Linked DNA regions of Homo sapiens: region 2 is linked to region 1. Evidence: promoter capture Hi-C in human tissues and cell types (Jung and others, 2019). All regions are on one chromosome and are shown on one strand. Each heading gives the region's core, a stretch centred on a gene start or on the middle of the fragment in contact. The rest is flanking DNA. Distances are from core to core; before and after follow the strand shown.

Region 1 (6,712 bases), core at 1,338-3,837:
TTGTCTGTCAGGGAGAGGTCAGATCTAAAAAAAAAAAAAAAGAAAAAAAAAGGAAGGGATGAAAAATTCTTTCTTTGTTGTTATGGGTTGAATTGTGTGAATTGTGTCCCTCCCAAAACCTAAAAACCGTAGACTTAAGTCCTAACCTCCAGTACCTCAGGGAGCGTTTGTATTTAAAGATAGGGGCCATTAAAGAGGTGGTTAAGGTAAAATGGGGCTGTTTGGGTGGGACTTCATCCAGTGTGAATGGTATCCTAACAAAAAGAGATGAGGACACAGACCCACGCAGAGGAATGACAGAGAGAAGGCTGCCATCTATGAGTCAAGGAGAGAGTCCTCAGAAGACACCAATCCTGCTGACACCTTGATCTTGGAATTTCAGTCTCCAGAATTGTGAGAAAATATATTTCTGCTGTTTAAGCCACCCATTCTGTGGTATTTTGCTATGGCAGCCCCAGCAAGCTAATACAGTAGTCCTATGCAGCTTATCTGCAGGATCAAGATATTGTTTTGAGCTTTAGCGCCTGTATGCATCTGTATATACGCTGTACATCTGTCTGTGTAAATACGCATGGATGGATGTCTAAATGGGTACTCTTCTGTTAACATTGTTTATCTCTGTGTGGTGGGATTATGGATGAAGTTTTAAAATTCTTTGTATTTTTCTGTTGTGTTTGAATTTTTCAAATGATTTGTATGTCTTATTTGTAGAAAGACCAAAAAAATCACTTTAAAAAGAAAAAAAAAAGGACCTCCTCTCAATAGTAACTTTTTTTGGCTTAAGTGTCCCCTTTTCTCCTCTGGGACAGATCTGAAATCTTAAACAAGCAGAAAACCTCCAGCCCAGAACAGCAGACACCAAAACAACTTTGTTGTGAACCAACATTTCTTGCTGCCTGGGCGCTTGTAGAAAAAGCCTTATTTGTTTGGTGGTATTCGTTATCAAAGTGCTGTTTATCAGGAAATCTGCTTTGTTCCTATTTTTCTTACATAGATAATATGAAAAAAACTCAGAAACTCTCCTTTTAAACTCAAAGTGCACAAGTAAGACTAGAATCCCATGTAAATGAACTCCTTACTGGTGTGCAAAATTAATGAAAGCTGCTACATTTAAGGATAGAGATCAGTAATAAGCCTTATTTCCACAAGAAAAAGTTTGGTCTTTTAAAAGCAATACTTGGAGTTGATTAAATCTGTTATTATTAATTAGATTTTCTCCTCTGTGATGAACAAAAAACAATTAAAGGCTTTGAGAGCTGTGAGAAAGACTTTAAAGACTATTTGACTCAAACTTTCCTCAGTGCACAACACTCCCCACCCTAACTTGACTGTAGGAGAAAAAACTGAGAACAAGACGGGGTGTGGCGACACCTCCACCATGACATAGCACCTCGGCCACTAACAGCTGCAGCAAATGCTTGGTTCATTAGGAAACGTTACCCGGCAGAATTCCAAAGGCCTCGGTCTAACAGTGAGGTGGTTCCATCACAAGGAGATTCTCAACCTTGGCTGCACATTCAAATCACTTGGGGGAGAGTTTTAAAAGTCCACATTCCTGCGCTACTATGTTGGAGACATAGATGGAACGGTCTGGCGAGGGGCCTGGGCATCAGCATTTTTAGAGCTCCTTGTAGGTGATTCCTATGCAACTCCAGGGTCAAGTGCCACTCCGGATGAACTACCTCATCTACACTGCTCTGCAACAGACAGCCTCAAACCCACCCCCAAACACACGCTGAGACTCTGATGTGGTCGCAGCAGCTGTGAAAGTGCTAAGTGCCTCTCACGTAGTCTCTGTATATAAGTATATACACGTAGTCTCTGTATATGAGTAAAGGAAAGGGTATTACCTGTAGGGGTCTTTCACCTGTCACCCTCGGAAGAAGCTGATGAGAAAGGCGCACAGGGCCTGGAAGGGTTTCCAACAATGTTCCCAGGCCTTCTTCTTTGCTTCCTCATTCCCTCCGGGCCTGGGTCCAGGCTGGGTAGGTTTGGCTGTGGGTCGGGTGGTGGGTTTGGCTTTTCCCAGCTCTTCCATCGAGTCCTTTCCCAGCTGTGTTGCTTCTGTGAGTTTCACTGTGGCCTTGGGCCTCAGAGATGGCGTCCCAGCCTCAGGCTGCTGGTTGGGCTCTGGGCTGCCCTTGAGGCTGGAAGTCACCTGCTGCATATGGGCCTGGGGTCCAGCCTCCCTGCACACGGATGGCCTAAGCACCGGGGCCCCCTGGCACGCATGGTGAAGGCGCCTCAGCTCCTGCAGGGCTTGATTCCAGTAAGGTTTGGGGTCAGCAGCGAAAGCCTGGCACATGCTGGGCTGCCCCCTGTACTCACACCAGTAGGTCTGGTCTGTGTTGCGGCAGTCGACACGAAGCCAGACTTCTCCAGCACCTTGCCCCAAGCTGCTGGGACGCATAGTGCAGGAATCTCTCCCTCCAGTCTGGAAATGGAATTCCTCCCCAGTGCTTCCTTGCTTTTGCCTCGGGGCCTGACCCAAAGTCCCCAGGCAGGACAAGGTCACCAGCAGGAGGCAGGGGACGAACTTCATGGCGATACTCCGATAAACTTGCTTGCAACTCTGCACCAGGAGAGAGAACACAAGTGGGACGAGTCACCCTTTAAAGGGTGCTGCACAAAAGACTCTTTCTCTGCAAGGGTGGGGAGGATGTTTTGCAGCAAATGAGAAACATGCCCACAGACCTTAGACACGTAACACTTGGCAAGGGCAGAGCAGCCACCAGGGGCCGCCCACCACAAGCAAAGGGAATGGTTTTCCTGAGTGCCTCAGAGAGATCTGCCCCAGCCCTGTCACGCACAAAGCGCCACACACAGCTTTGGGGCTGAGGGTTTTACAGTTTTCCAACCACAGGGTGCTTGCTCTAAAATTGGCCCTTGTACGGGAACAGCCTTCTTTGTCAACATTTGGTATATGCCAAGGTGTGGCAGTGGTATTCTGGAAAGTGAGGTTTGCAGCTGGGAGTCTGGGCTGCCTCGAGGCTCCCTCCTGCTCCCTGGAATCCCCATCTTGGGGGACCATGGGTTTAGTTAATCCAAAGGAAGCCAGAATTTTATGAGCCTAAGTGTTATGAGATGGCCTAGCAAATGCAAAAAAGACTATGTGAGGTTGTGTGAGGATGTGTGTGCCAGAGGGACACAGAGACACTCCCCCTCCCACCCACCGAGCTGAGAGTCACCTGGTGTGGCCTCTGTGGGGCTGTCCCGCCATCACCGTGGCCACAGGCCACAGTGCTGCAATGTTCACTTCCCTTGTTATTGCATGCCTTACAATTGCACCAACTGAATGATGACGAGGAAGGCATGCAAATATATGTTCACAGTGGGATTCAGTCTATTTTAGACCATGAATTCTATTTCAAATTCAATTGAAATAACACAGTTTTAATTATATCACAGGAAAATATGATTTTAAATATTATTATTATTGTTCTACAATAGAAAAAAAATAAATTGAAAATAACTTTTGATTCTGTGTCAAGAATCATAGTTTGGTATGGTCATAACTGTCTTTTGATGACCCTTCCAGAGGGCACTGTGGAGTGGACTAAAGGTGGCAATTTGCTGTTAGGAATAGGGTTGACGGATGTTGGGGGACTAGTTTGAATGTGAGGGATTTATCTTGGCGATCCCACGTAGGGTAGTTGGTACCTGGCACAGCCTTCCTTCCACCTGGATATCCTGAGTCCTGAGAAGACCTAGTAGGGCTGGAACTAAAGCCAGGCTGAGCTTCGGCAGCCACTGTGTGTGTAGCAGTGAGAGCCTTCCAGAAGAGGGCATCACCCCAGGTGGGGAGCAGAGGAAGCTTCCAAGAAGTGGTGCCAAACCTTCAAGACAAGTCAGTCAATTTGTCAGGTTGAGAAAGGGTAAAGGGCAGGTGTTTTTTTTGTTTGTTTGTTTGTTTGTTTGTTTTGGCCTCATTCTGTCACCTAGACCGGATTGCACTGGTGTAATTATAGCTCACTGTAGCCTCCAACTCCTGGGCTCAATTACTTCTCCTGCCTCAGCCTCTCAAGTAACTGGGACTACAGGCATGGGCTGCCACACCCAGCTAAATTTTAAATTTAAAATTTTTAGGGACAGGGTCTCACTCTGTTGTCCAGGCCGATCTCACACTCCAGGCCTCAAGCAATCCTCCTGCTTCCTTGTCCTCTGGAGTCACTGGAATTACAGATGTGAACCACCACAACCAGCTAAAGGTAGGTTTTTTTTTTTTTTCACACAGTCTTACTTTGCCACCCAGGCTGGAGTGCAGTGGCACAATCTTGGCTCACTGCAACCTCCACCTCCCAGGTTCAAGCAATTGTCCTGCCTCAGCCACCTGAGTAGTTGGGATTACAGGCGCCTACCACCATGCCAGGCTAATTTTTGTGTTTTTAGTAGAGATGGGGTTTCACGACGTTGGCCAGGCTGGCCTCAAACTCCTAACAAGTGATCCGCCCACTTCAGCCTCCCTAAGTGCTGAGATTACAGGCACGAGCCACTGCGCCTGGCCAAGGGCAGATTCTTAAGGCAGGATAATGCTTCCTGTAAAGGAGTGATCCTGGAGTGCAGGTTTATGGACTGCTGAAATGTCAAGGGCAAGGAGGCAGTGGTGAGAATCAGGCTGGAGAGGTGACTTAGGGTGGGGTCCGCAGCCCCCGTACCAATCCACAGGGCCAGTTCTAAGACAGAGGCTTGCCCTTTGTGTGCTTCCAACTCAGGAGCCCCTGGAGTAAACAGCACTCCAACCCAGGCTCCATGTCGTGGCCACAGGAAGGCAGGTGTTCAGCTCCAACCTCCTTTCCCCCACCCACCACAGTGTTGCAGGGAACAGCTTGCTAGACCCATCTAGACACCCTGAGGTTATGGCCAGCCCTTTTCAATGCCCTAGTGAGGCTGAGTTTACCCTGCAATGGGAACTTATCATAAGAGCTCTAATCACGCTCTTCCTCTTTTCGCTTTTGGGACAAGCCAAACCTCAAGACCTTTGCACTAGTGCCCACTGCCTGAAAATCTTTTCCTTGAACATCGCATGGCTGCCTTCTCCCTGCCACCTTCACAGAGGCCTTCCCTCGCTATACAATGTAAAAGAGCTCTTCTGTTCCTCTATCACTTCATCCTGCTTTAATCCTCTTGAAGGCAGTGATTTCTCTCTTTTTTTTTGAGACGGAGTTTTGCTCTGTCACCCAGGCTGGAGTGCAATGGCGTGAACTTGGCTCACTGCAACCTCCGCCTCCTGGGTTCAAGCAATTCTCCTGTCTCAGCCTCCCGAGTAGCTGGGACTATAGGCACATGCCACCACATCTGGCTAATTTTTGTATTTTTAGTAGAGACAAGGTTTCACCATATTGGTCAGGCTGGTCTTGAACTCCTGACCTCGGATTATCCACCTGCCTTGGCCTCCCAAAGTGCTGGGATTACAGGTGTGAGCCACCATGCTCAGCCCAATTTCTCTTCTTTCTTATTTGCTTGTTCATCTTTTAAGTGTGGAGTGTCATGATCAGATTTGCACTGTAAGAGACTGCTGTGTTGAGAAAGGATTGGTGGACAGGGGGACTTTGTACAGGGAGGGTAGTGGGCAAGCTGGCTCTGTATGGGCTGAGTTGCTGTAACAAAAAGACCTTCTCTATTATGAACCAGTCTTCCAGGTTCATGCCTGGAAGTTCTTCAAATTTAACACATGCCTTCCAAGGTTTGTTTGATTGCTGCCATTTCCAGTGGAACAAGTCCAGGATCTGCAGTTTTGTCTTAGTAGACACTTCACTTACTTACTGCTGGCCTAAGCCTAGTCACTCAGCCACATCTAGCTGCAAGGGAGGCTGGGAAATATAGTCCCCACCAGGTAGCCTATGTCTAGCCAAAACTCAGGGGGCTGGAAGCCTAAAAGAAAGAGGGGAATGCCTCGCTAGCCAAGAGACATTATGAAAACTGTAAGAGGATCTCATCAGTGGGGATGGAGAGGAAGGCTTTGTGACCAAAGGTAGATGGAAGGGAGGGGGAAAGCAGACTTAAGAGTTCCTCCAGCTCCAGTGATAGGGTGAAGGTGGAGAAATTCAAGAAAGGGAACATGGTGGGGAGAACCTGTGGCGATGTGCAGGTCAGGACAGTGGTTTAAGGCAGGGGCCACAAACTGTGGCCCATGTGGCCTGCTTTTGTAATTTTTGAAGAACACGGCAATATCTATTCACTTACGTATTGCCTATGGCTACTTTTGTGCTGCAACAGAGTTGAGGAGACATAGGCCACATGGCCCAGAAAGCAAAATATATTCACTGTCTGACCCTTTTCAGAGAAAGGTTGCCAACCTCTGGTTTAAGGTGCATCTGGGTGGAGACATGTCATGAACACAGGGTTGGCTGGAGCTCTATGTGATGAGAGAACCAAAGGGAGCAGGTGAGGTGATGAGTGAATGAAATTACCCAAGGAGAGAGTGAGGGGCACACCAGGAGAGAACCTGCGAATGCCACCTAAATTTAAGAACTGGAGAGATGAGTGTTGGAAGGAGACTGAGGAATAGACAGCCATGCCCCAAGAGGACACTGGAGAGGGCTCTTTTGGGAGCCTGAAGGGAGATCTTTGTAAAGGGGATGTGTTCACAAAAGTCAAGTCCTCGGTGACCCCGACAATAGCCCTTCAGGAGTGGTGGGGACAGAAGGCAGGTCACAGGAGTTGAAGAACCAATGGAAATGAGAAAGTGGACAGAGATGTGTCGAGAGTTCTT
Region 2 (7,172 bases), core at 3,505-6,004, 100 kb before region 1:
GAGATCAAGGCTACAGTGAGCTGAGATTGTGCCACTGCACTCCAGCCTGGACAATAGAAATTTAGTTGCTGTCTCAAAACAAACAAACAAACAAAACAAAAAACAAAAAAACTTGATGCAAAATGCCAGCCTGCAGAAAAGAGAAAACCAATGTTTATTGTACAAGGTACTTCACACATTGTATCAGCCTGTGCTCTCAGCTGCAACAACAGAACACCACTCTGGCTGTGTATTAGGGTTCTCTAGAGGGACAGAGCTAAAGACAGATAGATATATGAAAGGGAGTTTATTAAGGTGTATTGACTTGCATGATCACAAGGTGAAGTCCCACAATAGGCCGTCTGCAAGCTGAGGAGCAAGGAAACCAGTCCGAGTCCCAAAATCTCAAAAGTAGGGAAGCCAGCAGTGCAGCCTTCAGTCTGTGGCCAAAGGCCTGAGAGCCCCTGACAATCCACTGGTGTAAGTCCATGAGTCCAAAAGCTGAAGAACTTGGAATCCGATGTTCGGGAGCAGGAAGCATCCATCATGGGAGAAAGATGGAAGCCAGAAGACTCAGCCAGTCTAGTCCTCCCACGTTCTTCTGCCTGCTTTTATCCTAGCTGCACTGATAGCTGATTAGATGGTGCTCACCTAGATTGACTGTGGGTCTGCCTCTCCGAGTCCACTGACTCAAATGTTAATCTCCCTTGGCAACACCCTCACAAACACACCCAGGAACAATACTTTGCATCCTTCAGTCCAATCAAGTTGACACTCAACCATCACAGGCTGAAAGTGAATTTTCTAAAAACTATCAAGAGCTTATAGATTGTCTGGGAGGGCGAGAAAATAGTTTGGAAGCCACTTAGCCAAGAACAACACTCCAGATTACTCTACTGGCTTGTCAGGTAGAAAAGTTGCCGCTTGCCCTATGGACACTTGGCTGTCGCTCTATCACTGCCAGAACACAGACATGGCTATTTCTGGGAACAGAAGTAATGAAAGAGAATGGTGGATGGTGCATGGCACCTGCTTTCCTTCCTCACCAGCCACAGATTCACGGTTGCACAGATACATTCAGTGTGTAGGGCCTGATACAGGTAAAATGCTTAGGACAGAGCTCAGTTTCTCTGTCTGTAAAATGGGAGTGATAAGAGTGTCTATCATTTTGGGTTGTTTTGAGCATTAAGTAAGGTGATATGTGCAAAATTTTTAGGATAATGCTTAATACATATGAAGAACTGTATCAATGTTAGGATTTTTATTTTTTTATTTTTATTTTATTTTATTTTTGAGACTGTTTTTATTCCGGAGGAAATTCCTTGACAAGCCTACCTAGTTTAGATGCTGAGACCCTGAGACCTAGGGGACAATGGAGAAGAGGGTAGAGAATGGCTCTCTTGCCAACCAACAGGATCAGCTATAGTCTCTCACAAGCTTTGAATCATTCTAGATGATTAGAACTTTCCCACCTAAGAGAGAAATGGGCCAGATACCTTTCACTAAGAGCTGGCCCATCCCAAGCTGGAGGTTGACAAAAATGCAGCAATAGACTCCACTGCTCCCAAATCTAAGAAGTTCAAATGTATAAATTTCATCCTTCAAGCTGATCAAGAGTTCAACAGCCTCCCTTAGCATTGCCAGTTCAAGCCCCTGCTCTCCTGACCAGGTACTTACTGCTCTGATGATGGTTAAGGCACGCAGCCTTCCTTGGTGCAACGAAGCCAGAAGACAAGATGTGCTGGGAGTAGAAATCTTCTCCCTGTGGAATCAGTGAGCTGAAAGAACATTGAGAAAGCAGGAGAGCTAAGAAGAAATGGGACAGCTATCTCTGACCTTCTGCACAAGAACAAATCTCCCGTTGTGAATAATATTTAATAATTGGTTCAGTTTTCCCAGCCTTGCCTTCCAGGGAATTTTCCTGCACTGGTAGAATAATCAGATACAAGTTGGAGGGAAAGATGCCCTGTGGGAGCTGCTGCTAAGTCCCAGATTCTTCTTAGACGCTCAGAATTTGATGACTTTGGCGCTGGGCCACAGAAGTCATGAGCTTCTCCAGGCACAGCTTGTTTGGCCTGGTGATGTGAGAGGAAGGAAGCAAGCTGGGATCTCATCAGGTGTCCTTCCTGCTGTCAGCCTTTTAGAACACGGGTGACTCTGTGCTATCAGATGGGATTATTTTTAAAATGTATTTTTTTGTTTTTGTTTTTGTTTTGAGACGGAGTCTCACTCTGTAGCCAGGCTGGAGGGCAGTGGCGTGATCTCGGCTCACTGCAACCTCCGCCTCCCAGGTTCCAGCGATTCTCCTGCCTCAGCCTCCTGAGTAGCTAGGACTACAGGCACGCACCACCATGTCCAGCTAATTTTTGTATTTTTAGTAGAGACAAGGTTTCACCATGTTGGCCAGGATGGTCTCCATCTCCTGACCTTGTGATCCGCCCCCCTCGGCCTCCCAAAATACTGGGATTACAGGCGTGAGCCACTGCGCCCGGCCTGTTGTTTTCTAAGTGTCACTCATTACCATGAACATGTCAAATACTTCCACAGTAAAAGTAACAAAATAGACATTTCTGTAATAATTTATTACAGAATCATGAAAGAACCATGGAACACAATGATGGCACATCAGTGGCTCATCTCCTTTACTTGACAAGTGAAGATACTAAGTCCTTCTGGGGTTGTGGAAGGTGTGTGGAGTTGTGAGCAATAGTTTAGGAGTCAAGGTTTTCTCCTTCCATGTCTTTCTTTCCTATCAAAAAGCCTAAGAATCCACAAACAGGTGTGGTGGAGATTGCTAACTGTTGCCTAGTATGTGTTCTTTTCTTCTTTTTTTAAAAAAAATAAACAGTATTTCCCCATCTGCCATTTTTAATCAGGGCATGACTTCACGGCTAGAGAACAGATCCCAGCTCTGCAGCTGGCTCTGGCCAATAGGGTATGAATGGAGATGATTAATGCAATTGCCTAGTCACCTTAGAAACAGCCACTTGCTCTAAATTTTCATTTTTTTAAATTATACTTTAAGTTCTAGGGTACATGTGCGTAACGTGCAGGTTTGTTACATATGTATACATGTGCCATGTTGATATGCTGCACCCATTAACTCGTCATTTACATTAGGTATTTCTCCTAATGCTATCCCTCCCTCCCTCCCTCCCCCGACCCCACGACAGGCCCCATTGTGTGATGTTCCCCACCCTGTGTCCATGTGTTCTCATTGTTCGATTCCCACCTATAAGTGAGAACATGTGGTTTTTGGTTTTCTGTCCTTGTGATAGTTTGCTCAGAATGATGGTTTCCAGCTTCATCCATGTCCCTACAAAGGACATGAACTCGTCCTTTTTTATGGCTGCACAGTATTCCATGGTGTATATGTGCCACATTTTCTTGATCCAGTCTATCATCAATGGACTAAATTTTCACTTTTATCTCCTTTACTTTGCTGAAAAACAATGAAATTTCAGCAGCAGCCTTGGACTTAGAAAATGGAAGCCATAAGCAGAGGGTACCAAACTCTAGAAAAAGATACTTCTCTCTTCCTCTCTTCCTCTGATCTAGTTTCACCCAGAATCTCATTTCCATGATGGCTAGACCTGGTCTTTTTCTTCATTGCTTTATCCTCAATCCCAGACACAGAGCAGAAACTCAGTCAGTATTTGCTCTCAGGGCTTTTGTCTCCATAATGCCTTCTTTAATCCTCACCGCTGTAGCTCAGTTTCTTTGTCCAGACTTGGCTTTGCTGGCCACTTTAGCCTCACTATTAAATAATTGACCTACTGATTATTTGATCACCAGTATTAGCTGATCCTTTTCTAGGTGCAAGGTGCTGGTGACAGAGTATTGACAGAAACAGGCATGGGCTACTGCCGTGGAGCAGATGGCCCACTCCCTGTGTATTCAAGGGGGAATCTCTACTTCAGCCTGAACTTGGTAAAAGTCATTTCCCCCATACCCCTTTCCAGCTGCCCACTGTGTTGTCTGGAAAACTCTGGTCTTTTAGGAGGACTGAGAATGAGATGGTTAGGACTGTCAATGACACAAACATGCCCCATGAGCACAAAGTACAATTTGGGGTGATGTGAGAGGGATGATGAAAGCTTCCCCAAACAGGGGAGATTGAGAGTTTTCCTTTAAAATGTTTTTATTTTTAACCAAGTTACCATTTCTTTGATGTAAGCAATACAGATAATAAAAAATAAAGACAAAATCATTGAAATATATCAGTGCTATACTTTCTACTCATTGATAATCTTACCACCCAGGTTACCAGTGGTTACCACTGATAACATCTTATGTATATATTGTACACTTTTCATATAAATCATATTTTTCATAGAAAAACAATCCTAAAATTCATATGGAACAAAAAAAGAGAACTAAATAGCCAAAGCAATCCTGAGCAAAAAGAACAAAGCTGGAGGCATCACACTACTTCACTTCAAAATATATTACAAGGCTTATAGTAACCAAAACAACATGGTGGTATGGCTCACGCCTGTAATCCCATCACTTTGGGAGGCCGAGGTAGGTGGATCATGAGGTGAAGATATCAAGACCATCCTTGCCAACATGGTGAAACCCCATCTCTACTAAACATACAAAAATTAGCTGGGTGTGGCAGTGCAGGCCTGTAGTCCCAGCTACTTGGGAGGCTGAGGCAGGAGAATCACTCAAACCTGAGAGGCAGAGGTTGCAGTGAGCCGAGACGGCACCACTGCACTCCAGCCTGGTGACAGAGCAAGACTCTCTCTCAAAAACAAAAACAGAAACAAAAAACCAACACATAGACCAATAGAACAGAATAGATAACCCAGAAAGTAATACACATATTTATAGCCAACTGATTTTCACCAAAAGCTCCAAGAACATACATTGGAGAAAGGACACCCTCTTCCATAAATGGTGCTGGGAAAATTGGACATTCATATGCAGAAAAATAAAACTGTACTTCCATCTCTCATCATATACAAAAAATCCACTCAAGATGCATTAATACTTAAACACAAAACCCTAAGCTATAAAACTACTTGAAGAAAACATAGGGAAAACACTTCAAGACATTGATCTAGGCAAAGATTTTATGGCTAAGACCTCAAAAGCATAGGCAACAAAAGCAAAAATGGACAAACGGGACTATATTAGAATACAAAGCTTCAGCACAGAAAATAATCAACAGAGTAAAGAGACAACCTGTCAAATGGGAGAAAATACTTGTGAACTATTCATCTGACAAGGGACTAATATTCAGAATATACGAGGCACTCACAACTCAACAGTAAACAAACAAACCAACCCACAATTAATCCCATTTAAAAGTGGGTAAAGGACAGGAAGAGACATTTCTCAAAAAAATACATACAAATGGCCAACAGGTATTTGAAAACATGTTCATCACTAATTATCAAAATGCAAATCAAAACCACAATGAGGTATTATCTTACCTCAGAATGGGTATTATTAAAAAGACAAACATTAACAGATGCTGATGAGGATGTGGAGAAGAGGAAACTCTTATACACTGTTGGTGGGAATGTAAATTAGTACAGTCACTATAGAAAACAGTATGGAGAGTTTTCAAAAAGCTAAAAATGGAACTATCATATGACCCGGCAATCCCACAACTGCATATTTATCCAAAGGAAAATAAATCAGTATATCAAAAGACACTTGCACCCCTATGTTTATTGTAGTGCTGTTCACAATAGCAAAGATATGAATTAACAAATTATCCATTAATAAATGGATGAAGAAAATGTGGTGTATATACACAATGGAGTACTATTTGGTCATGGAAAAGAAAGAAATCATGTCACTTTCAGAACATGAATGAAACTGGAGGTCATCATGCTAAGTGAGATAAGCCAGACATAGAAAGACAAATATTGTATATTCTCCCTCATATATGGGAGCTTAAAAAGTTGATGTCATGGAGGTGGAGAGTAGAATGAGACCAAAGGCTAAGGGTGTGTGTGTGTGTGTGTGTGTGTGTGTGTGTGTGTGTGTGTGTGGTGGAGGGGATGAAGAGAGGTTGCTGAATGGGTACAAACATACAGTTACATAGAAGGAATCAGTTCTAATATTTCATAACAGAGTAGGGTAGCTATAAGTAACAACAACGTATTGTATCTTTCAAAATAACTAGAAGAGAGAACTTGAAATGTTCCCAACACATATAAATGATAAATACTCGAGGCAATGGATACCCTAAGAACTCTGACTTGATAATTATACATTCAATGCACATAACAAAATATCACATGTATCTCATAAATGTGTACAAATATTATGTATCAATAAATTTAAAAATTACATTTTTATATCAACCACATATGCACAAGCTAAGAAACATTTTTAAAAAGATTTTAGAATTTCTGACATCAGGCTGTATCTTAGAATCAATGTATTTACAAAACAACATATGACAGTTTAAGTGGAAGCATCCTTTTTCTTAGTAATGAATAATTAATAGTCTATCTTATACTTGATGACATCTTAGATCTAATGAAATAGGTATATGTTTAGAGAAATGAGATCATATGTTTAGAGAAATGCTATCTCACCCTACAGTGACTAGCTTTTTTCAAACTAATATGTTGTGAATATCTTTCTAAGTCAATAAATAGAGCTCTGCGTTGTTATTTTTCATTGGCAAAGAATATTGTTGTACCATAATTTATTCATCCCCTAATTTGGTACAAGTATTTTATTTTCATTTTTTATAAAAACCATGGTTGGGATGGCTGTGCACGTGTGGGTGCAGGGATTATATGAAGACTGTACTTTCTACTCAGTTTTTTGTGAATCTAAAACTACTCGAAAAAATAAATTTATTAAAAAGAAAAACAAGCCATTATAAACAATGCAAGTCCAACAAGTCACAAGTCACATGGCCAACCTCATATTCAAGAGGTAGAGAAATAAACTTTACCTTGTGATTGGGAAACTACCAATTAACATTGCAAAGGAATGTGTATACATAAGAACAGATGTGATATGGTTTGCTGTGTCCCCACCCAAAACTCATCTTGAATTGTAGTTCCCATAATCCCCACATGTGGTAGGAGGAACCTGATGGAAGGTAATTGAATCATGGGGGTGGTTACCCTTATGCTCTTCTCATGAAAGTGAGTTCTCACAAGATCTGATGGTTTTATAAGGGGCTTTTCCCTCTTTGCTCGGCACTTCTCCTTTTT

Evidence for each region. The method cuts DNA at HindIII sites, captures the fragments that hold promoters and counts their contacts. A contact is called where the count stands out against the background at its distance.
Region 2: a fragment that was not itself captured here is called in contact with the fragment with the promoter of FGFBP2 in region 1 in 3 of the 25 tissues and cell types used here (H1 embryonic stem cells, mesenchymal stem cells and mesendoderm cells).

The regions. Positions count from the first base shown.
Region 1 is chr4:15,960,588-15,967,299 of GRCh38, forward strand. FGFBP2 (fibroblast growth factor binding protein 2) reads right to left here and starts at 2,588. Exons shown (of 2, transcript NM_031950.4): 1 at 1,851-2,588; 2 at 1-24. The coding sequence starts at 2,542. The coding sequence ends at 1,871. RefSeq lists an enhancer at 2,618-3,459. The HindIII fragment of the contact is 18,537 bases long and covers 1-6,712 here.
Region 2 is chr4:15,854,250-15,861,421 of GRCh38, forward strand. No RefSeq gene overlaps it. Among named protein-coding and RNA genes, the nearest start is that of CD38, 80 kb to the left of the region's middle. The HindIII fragment of the contact is 4,017 bases long and covers 2,747-6,763 here.